3 separate regions of the Homo sapiens genome follow, and all the other regions are linked to region 1. Evidence: promoter capture Hi-C in 16 types of primary human blood cells and fetal thymus (Javierre and others, 2016). All regions are on one chromosome and are shown on one strand. Each heading gives the region's core, a stretch centred on a gene start or on the middle of the fragment in contact. The rest is flanking DNA. Distances are from core to core; before and after follow the strand shown.

The links. The method cuts DNA at HindIII sites, captures the fragments that hold promoters and counts their contacts. A CHiCAGO score of 5 or more calls a contact.
Region 2: a fragment that was not itself captured here is called in contact with the fragment with the promoter of ARX in region 1 in 1 of 17 cell types (M2 macrophages); the score reaches 5.8 in M2 macrophages.
Region 3: the fragment with the promoter of POLA1 here is called in contact with the fragment with the promoter of ARX in region 1 in 2 of 17 cell types (fetal thymus and monocytes); the score reaches 5.5 in fetal thymus.

The regions. Positions count from the first base shown.
Region 1 is chrX:25,014,683-25,017,382 of GRCh38, forward strand. ARX (aristaless related homeobox) reads right to left here and starts at 1,283. Exons shown (of 5, transcript NM_139058.3): 1 at 860-1,283. The coding sequence starts at 1,055. The HindIII fragment of the contact is 5,488 bases long and covers 362-2,700 here.
Region 2 is chrX:24,732,355-24,735,054 of GRCh38, forward strand. POLA1 (DNA polymerase alpha 1, catalytic subunit) reads left to right here. Exons shown (of 37, transcript NM_001330360.2): 16 at 16-100; 17 at 1,401-1,462. Among named protein-coding and RNA genes, the nearest start is that of POLA1, 40 kb to the left of the region's middle. The HindIII fragment of the contact is 700 bases long and covers 1,033-1,732 here.
Region 3 is chrX:24,692,507-24,695,206 of GRCh38, forward strand. It overlaps POLA1 (DNA polymerase alpha 1, catalytic subunit), which reads left to right and starts at 1,412. Exons shown (of 37, transcript NM_001330360.2): 1 at 1,412-1,498. The coding sequence starts at 1,456. RefSeq lists a silencer at 1,234-1,393 and an enhancer at 1,584-1,673. The HindIII fragment of the contact is 2,747 bases long and covers 252-2,700 here.

The DNA of each region.
Region 1 (2,700 bases), core at 33-2,532:
GAAAAGAAAAAAGTCAGTTTTATTTAAATGCCCCCTTCTCAACCGTCTGCTCCTGCCATCCAAATTGCGCTATGGCCGGACCGCTGGTTTTTGGATTTTAAAAGAAACCAACAGTTCTTTCCTTTCCCTGCGACACCTCTGCAGCAAGCTCGAGGCGAAACTTGAGGATAACAGGTTCGGGGTAAAAGGACATTTGTTCTGGAATTTTTAATTTCAGAAAAAAATAAAATATTTTAAACAGCTCGTCTATTTTAAAAAATAAAATAGCAGAGAAAAAATTAGCATCCAGAAGTCACACATTTCATACATTTTAAATACATTAAGGAGCATTTGGAGAATCCCAGGAAGATGTTTTCTGCAAAGCTTGGGTTTAAAAGGTCACAAGTAATCTGCAATTAAAAAAATAAAACCAAAACATTGCATATACAGAAATCTTCCAAAGAGGAAAGGCCAAGGCTCACTCAGCCTGGAGACCCCGATTCACCAGCTTTTGGGCTTCTTGTCTTCATCAAGTTGGTGCTACAAGGGTCCACCGGCCATCTACTGTTTCTGACCTGTCGCCGCTCTTCAGAGCACACCCAAGGCCACCAAAAGGGGCATTTAAACAACCTAACGATCAACACCGAAAAGCTAAAGGCTCCCTAAGCGAAAACGGGCCTTTTTCTGGAAGCAGGGAGGGAGGGAGGGAGAGACAGCCCTGGCTAGATGTTTAACGCTCTTTGAGGCAGCAGGCCTCAGAGTTATGCCCTCTCCTTCCTTCCTCTCCAAATTGACAATTCCAGGCCACTGGCCCCCGAACACCAAACATCCAAATCAGGGCCCAATGCCCTTAGTAAGTGCCTGACGGGAGCATCCTTACCTTGCACGGCCTTTTCCGGGTCGGCGCGGCTGGTCAGCGGAGCAGGCAAGCTCTGCGCGGCTCCCAGCAACCGCATTTTGCACGGGCTCCTCCGGCCCAGGATGCTGTCGATGCAGTAGGAGGAGAGCAAAGTTGGAGATTTACTTTTGCACTCGGGCCTCTCGGAGCAGCCCTCCTCCTGGTACTGATTGCTCATGGCTGGGGCTTTTTCCCAGGGCGCAGAGAGCGGATCGCCGGCTGCCTCTCCCGGAGGGTGGGATGGATGGGTGTGTGTTGGGGGTGGGGTTAGATAGCGGGTTATAACGGATATTATTGCGATCTTTGTGCCTTTCTGCCTCCCTTGGTTGCCGGCTGCCGGCTCCCGCCCTGCCCGCGGCCCGAGCTCGCCCTCTCCGCGCTCAGGACAAGCGGTAACAAGTGTAGTGAGCAGCGGGCGCTGAGCTCTGGAGTCTCTCTCCTCCACGTGCTGAGAGGCGCCCTCTGATTGGCTCTCGCCAGAGGCCGGGCTGCGTCGGCCTGTGGGCGCGGCGCAAAGCCCGGACTGGATTCCAGAGGGGCAGGCGGGGGTGGGGGCAGCGGGCACGCACCAGAGCCAATTTTCCTTTTCTTTCTTTCTTTTTTTAAGTTACCAATTTTCTAAGTCCGCTATCCTCTTCCTGCAGCTCCTCCTTTGACCCTTTAGTGTTGGCCGAAGTTCTAGCTTATTGGGATGCCAGGCCTGTGAATGCCATCTGGGTGGCGTGCGCCCCTTCCACCAACCCGAGGACCTCGCTCCCTGGAGGCGAGGCCTCGAGGCTCACGTTCAGACTCACTCGGCACTTTTCAAAGCCGATATTGGGCTCCCAGGACACCGCCTTGACCTCCCTGGCGCTCAATTGCCGTCCTCTCTAGGCCGGACGGGCGTCGGGGGGCCAGGGTGACCGCCCCAAGCAAACATCTGCCGTCTGGGAGTTCGCTTTTCTCTTGCGGCCCAAGGCATTGCGCTGTCTATCTTCACCCTGAGCCCGACTGTGTCTCTCTTGTTTGTAGCGTCCCCCAACCGCTCTCCTCTCCGTTTTAAACTCTGGAATGGGAAAAAGCCTCCTTACAGACAAAGCTCTGCCATAGGCGCGCGGCCTTCCCTAGAGCATTTACTGGGTGGGAAGGGACAGGCGAGTATCAGCAGCGAGGAGGGGCGACTGGGGACGAGTCTGGGGGCCTCCTCTTTCTCCCTGGACTCTCTTCCCTCTTTCCCCCACAAATTCGTATCTGTTAGGCCTTCACCCTGAGGCTGTTCACCTTCCAATCGCAGCTAGGGAGCAGAACCCTCAGGGATCCCTGACCTCTCCAGGGTGGAAGGAACCCAAATTCGGCTGCAGCCAAATCTAAGCGTCTAAAATTCTGAATTCTCATGACCTGGCTCCCTTGAGCAAAGGTGAGAGAGTGAACCTTAGAGAGAGCGCCTTTCTTCCCAAACAGTTTCCAGCGCCGAGAACTAAAACCCAACTCCAACTGATGTTGGGTCGAGCCTGGGCCAGCACGGACGCCTTCCCTGCCTGGGTGCAGGTTCCCAGGGATTTCCAGGGGCCCCAACGCTGGCAGAATTGGGGCGAAGGTGGTGGGTGAGAGAGGGGCCAGGGAGGGGGAATCCACGCCGGGTTTTCCTCTCTCAACTCCCTTCAATGTGTCAAAGAGAAAAGCATTTTACAAAGGATTATACTTGAATCACTTACAGTCAGTATTTAAAAATACAAGGATGCATAACTGGGATTTTTTTTTTTCAGCCATAAACATCTGCATAACTCTTGGATGCTGGTGGGTGGGTAGCAGACAGATCGGGCTGCCTCCGCAGGAAACTTCAA
Region 2 (2,700 bases), core at 133-2,632, 280 kb before region 1:
CTCCTTTCTTTGCAGATTATTGCTATGGCAGCTTTGGTCCATCACAGTTTTGCATTGGATAAAGCAGCCCCAAAGCCTCCCTTTCAGTCACACTTCTGTGGTATGTATTTTTTTTTAAGCTGGCTTACTAACAGCTTGATTTGAATTTCCTTATTTTTTCTCCAGCTATTGGATCAGTAACTTGTTTTTCAAAAATTGTTTTCAAGAATAGTGCATATTGTTAAAGAGGGTTTTGTTTTTTTTTGTTTTTTTTTTTTTTGCCATGGAAACTAAGTTTTATTGGGTTGGTTGCCTCCTATTCAGCTGGTTCATTTTTTTTTTTCTAGGAGAAGTCTGGAGTCTATTTGACATCTTTTTTTTGTTTCAATGGTTGCTCTACTGAGGTTGAGTAGTTTTTTCCTGGGTCAAAATTAGACTTTATTTTCTGATGTCATTCTAATAGCCTATCATAGAAGCTTGATCAAAGTTTTCTGTGTGATGAGGCAAGATGCCAAGGAATAAATATTTACCTATTTGGGAGGAGTTATAGTAATAAGAATTGGAGTTGGGTTGTGCTATGCATAAAATTCAATGGATGAAACAATTCCACCAAGTTCTGCATATGTGTTTTATGAGTCAGTCTCCAAGGAGGATTCTGATATATTCCATGTTGAGAGCTTGGCCAGTTACCTAAGCATTTTGCTGTTTTTTAAAAAAGGGAATAATACCATTGACCTATTATATTTCCTGGGATCTTTTTCAGCCCAGAAGCAGAGATTAACTTGGCGAGCCTCTCGTCTGGTTTTCTTGGGTGTTAGGAAAGTAGGACTAAAACATGCAGAGAAGGGAGTATGAGATATGATTGTTGTGAAGTTTTCCCCCTTAAGTGGGTGGAACACATGGAACAAAATGGTGATGAGAATAGCCTGGAAAATATGTAGAAGAGAGCAATCATGAGTTCATTTCAACACGCATTTATTCACTTCCTCTATGTACGTCACTATGTGAACAGCTGTTGTGTATGGTAAGGAACTTACAGTGTGTAATAGGGGAAGCTTTGGTCAATTTTACCTTTTCAGAAGGCTGAACTGAGTTTCTCCGCTGTATGTTGCTTGCGGCATTGGTGGTGGTGGGATTTCCTTTGAGGAAGACTGCTAAAATCTTCCATTCTGGCTTCAGTGGATAGATAGCAAATGTTTCATCAAAGCAGTTTTAACAACTGCAGGGACTTAGGGTTCTGTGCTTGACCATTCTTTTGAGGTCATCAACATGACCAGTGGAAGTATTTGATGACCCTCCTAATTCTTTAGGGTTGGGGGGAATATATTTAAGACAGTTTCGTTTGGAAACATGTACTATATGATTACCTGAAATTAGACTAAGATGGGTGTTGGAATCTTTATTTTTTTTCCTTTTTACAGTTGTGTCTAAACCAAAGGACTGTATTTTTCCATATGCTTTCAAAGAAGTCATTGAGAAAAAGGTAAAGTGCTCATTATATGAAGCACCTGTTTGTTTGGAGCGAGAAAGAAAAGGGGGGTGGTATGGACTAGTAGAAAAAAGGTGTTTTATATTTTATTAGATTCATTCCTGCCAGATTGGACTATGACATCGACCCATTAAAATGTATTAGACATACACCTAGAAGCATTATTTAACAATGTTTAAATGTTTTACTACCTGAAAATAATGGGATTCTGTACTGTATTGGTGGTTGGATAGGCTCAAACCCCCCTCCAATAGCTTAATTAGAAGCTTCTCTAAAATGCATGATCATATGATTCCTGTTTTGGGAAGGTGTTGGGTAGAGTCCCTCCCCAGCTTGAGGGAAGCTAAATGAAGTTGGGAATACTGTGGACGTTAAAGAGCCATGTATTGACAAAGTTGACATGGGGTTGGCCAAAATGGATCAGTGATCTCTAAATTCCAGCGTGCTCCATGAAGAAGTTTTCATGGGTCCTTAATAAAATGGGGAGGAGTGGGAAGTAGTATAATGTAGTGAATTTTTCACAAAGGTAAATGTATTCAATTAAAAGAATTTTCTTTTATGGATTGTATGTTGTTTCTTTTACGAAGTGATGATATTGATACGTTTTTAGGTTTGTTTTGTTTTTTAATGTCTTCATCTGACAAAAGTAAGCAACCTTGTCAGGTTCTACTTATTTTATTTAATTGGCTTGAGAAGTCCAGTAGTTGGGAGGTACTGTTAGATTAGGCTATTATTTGTGAAGTGCCGTGAATTACCTAACCAGGTAAAATGACCTAGGAAAATTCCATTAGAGTCAAACCGACTTTTTTTTTGAGACGGAGTCCCGCTTTGTTGCCCAGGCTGGAGTGCATTGGCGTGATATTGGCTCACTGCAGCCTCCACTCCCTAGTTCAAGGGATTCTCGTGCCTCAGCCTCCTGAGTATCTGGGATTACAGGCTCGTGGCACCACGCCCAGCTAATTTTTGTATTTTTAGTAGAGACAGGGTTTCACCATATTGACCAGGATGGTCTCAAGCTCCTGACCTCAAGTGATTCACCCGCCTCAGCCTCCCAAAGTGCTGGGATTACAGGTGTGAGCCACTGCGCCCAGCCACTTATAATTCTTAAATATGTTTGTTTTTAGTCTAGTTTCTTATTTATCAGTTCTCATCTTACCATTTGGGATTATTTTATACAATCCTTGGGATTTCTTTGCCCAGTAAATACATAAACAGTGAAGTCTACCAGGGAT
Region 3 (2,700 bases), core at 162-2,661, 320 kb before region 1:
TCCTGCTGATGACCTAATCACCTCCCAGAGGCCCTACCTCCTAACACCACCACACTGGTGATTAGGTTTCAACGCATACATTTTATGTGGAGAGAAACATTCAGACCACAGCAGTAGTGAAAGAGAAAAGAGGTTTGAAATGCCTAGAGTTATACCCGGGCATGTGGGAAGTAATCAGCTGTGAAATTGTTAAGGTAAGGATTTGGTTCTTATTAATGACTAGCCAACATGGTTCTCTCCTGGTTGGAAAAAGCTTGATAATAAAACTATAAAACTTCCATCAGTTTTTAAAAGGGAAGTGTAGGAATAAATCTGTCGTAGTACTTTAAATAGGAAGTTATGTCTAAGTGTAAATTACTACATGTTATGTATCACAACATATGGATCACATAACATGATATTAAATGATTATGAAGCTGAAAGACATTTTCTAAACAATCAGAAATTAAGAAACAAGTATTGATCAACCATGCTAGAAGACAGATTGAATTATCTTTATATCCTCTTTGGAGAAAATATTACAAAATTGTTGTCACATGAAGAAGGGATCAATAAGCATGTGGGCAATAATGTAGGAAAAAATACAAATGTGTGGCAGGCATTATTTAATAAAAATGTTATACCTTTTTGGAAAGAGATAACATGAGATGTACACATTACAGCCATTGTATCATACACAAAAATTGAATACCCTTTTTGTTTTTCATAACATTGAAATTTTGGAGTTCACGTCAGGTGTTTTGTAGATTGTCCTACATTTTGAATACATCTGATTGTTTCTTCATGGTTAGATTCAGGTTAGACATTTTTTGCAAGAAGACCATATAGGCGAAGTTTTTCCTTTTTCATACGCATTACATCAGGAGGCATATGAGATCAGATGGCCATTTATTGGTAATGCTACTTCTGGTTATTTGGTTAAGACGGAGCATATATCTTTAAGTTGTTAATCACACAGCCACTGTATCCAGACTGCTGAGAAGCAAACTATCAGGCAAAATTCAGGGCGCGCAGCAGGAGGCAGTCGCTTTCCCGGCTCTGGGGAAAACGATCCAACCACGCCCACTCTCCTGCCCGCCCGCGCCTCCTTTCCGGGAAAATGGGCTCTGAGAACCAGAGCGCCCTTTCTCCCACGCGCCCAAATCTTTTCCCATCAGCATGCGTGCGCTTGCGCAGTCTCCAGGCGGCTCCTTTCCAGCGCCCGACCGCTTCTTTCTCCTGCTCTCCTCCGGCTTCCCCTCAGCTCTAGCTTTTCCCTAAGGGGTCATCACAGGGCGCCAAACGCGCGTCCGCGGGAAGGCCGGGGGCGGAGCGCGGCGCGGCGCGGCACGTCAGTGGCCTTCCGGCCGGAAGTCCGCAGCCTCCCGAGCCGCTGATTGGCTTTCAGGCTGGCGCCTGTCTCGGCCCCCGCGCCAGTTTTGGGCTGGTTGGCGCGGAATCGGGAGATTCGGGACCATGGCACCTGTGCACGGCGACGACTGTGAGATAGGGGCGAGTGGTGAGGGACAATTCCGCGCGCGGGGCTCCGGGTTGGGACAGTGGCATGATTGCCGGTGGTGGGGGTTCTGAGGGAGGCGCACACCCGGGTTTGTTTGGGCGCAGACCTTGGTCGTCCCCGGCGGGGGCCCTTCTGGCGTCGGACCGGGCTTCCTTTAGGCGCGGTTTGCTCTTGGAGGACCAGAGCCTGGAGGGATTTTTGTTTGGGAGGCTGTCTCACCTCTGCCACTGAGAGTCTCCACAGTCGATTGCGTTTCTATTTCTTTTGGTGAGTTGCACCCACGTGCTGGGTATAACTTTATTGAGACTGGCCCCGTGGGGCCGAAAGTATTTCACTGCGATCTCCCTAAGTATCCACTTGAAGGCTTGAACAGAACAGATCTGTGTCCCTTTTTGTAGGAACTTCCAGGAAAATTTTATACATTGTAACTAAGCAGGAAAGAAAGCTCTAAGTGCTGTCATCGGGGAATAACGCGTTTTGTATTTTTAGGTAATGGGTTTCTACTTTATGCATTAACAATTTTTCTTTCAGATTCTTTGGAAAGTTCTTCAAGTGCTGCGTAGAAATCCTGTTCACAATCTAGTCATTCCTGGTGAAGTTTCAAAAAAATGGCATCAATTTAGGGCATTTCGGATCCCCTGTATATCACTCCGTTTGTCAGGGGTGTCTTTTATTTCCAAAAATAGAATACAAAAATGCAAATAGATTTGTCTGATTTTTTAAGTGTTCAACTAAAGCGTGACTTCAGTTAACTTCTAACTTAAAATCAGATGCTTCACTTTGTTAGCTCAAGCGTCACCTCTCCTGTCATTCAGATACATCACCATTAATGAGAACTCGCTTCCTAATCAGCTTCCTTTGCATTCACCTAGTTGTGAGTCACAGATTTCAATTTGTTCTAGCCGTTCGTTTTTTAAGACTATTTTGGAGAGTCGACCTGCCTGGATTACAGATAGGATGTTGGGTGTAAGTATGTGAACGAACAGTCTTTGCAGGCCTCTATCAGTGATTTGCCACTAAGCCCTTTCTTCATCCTAAAAACTACGTCATCTATGAACATCAGGAAATCACTTTGGAGGATACTGTGCAATCTTGAGACTCCTCTTAGGTCATGGTGTTCATTAAGTAGTTGCTGGGGACTTGTGACTGGAATTTTTCCTTTAGAGCAGACTGAAGGATTGTTACCTGAAAGACTGCTGTAA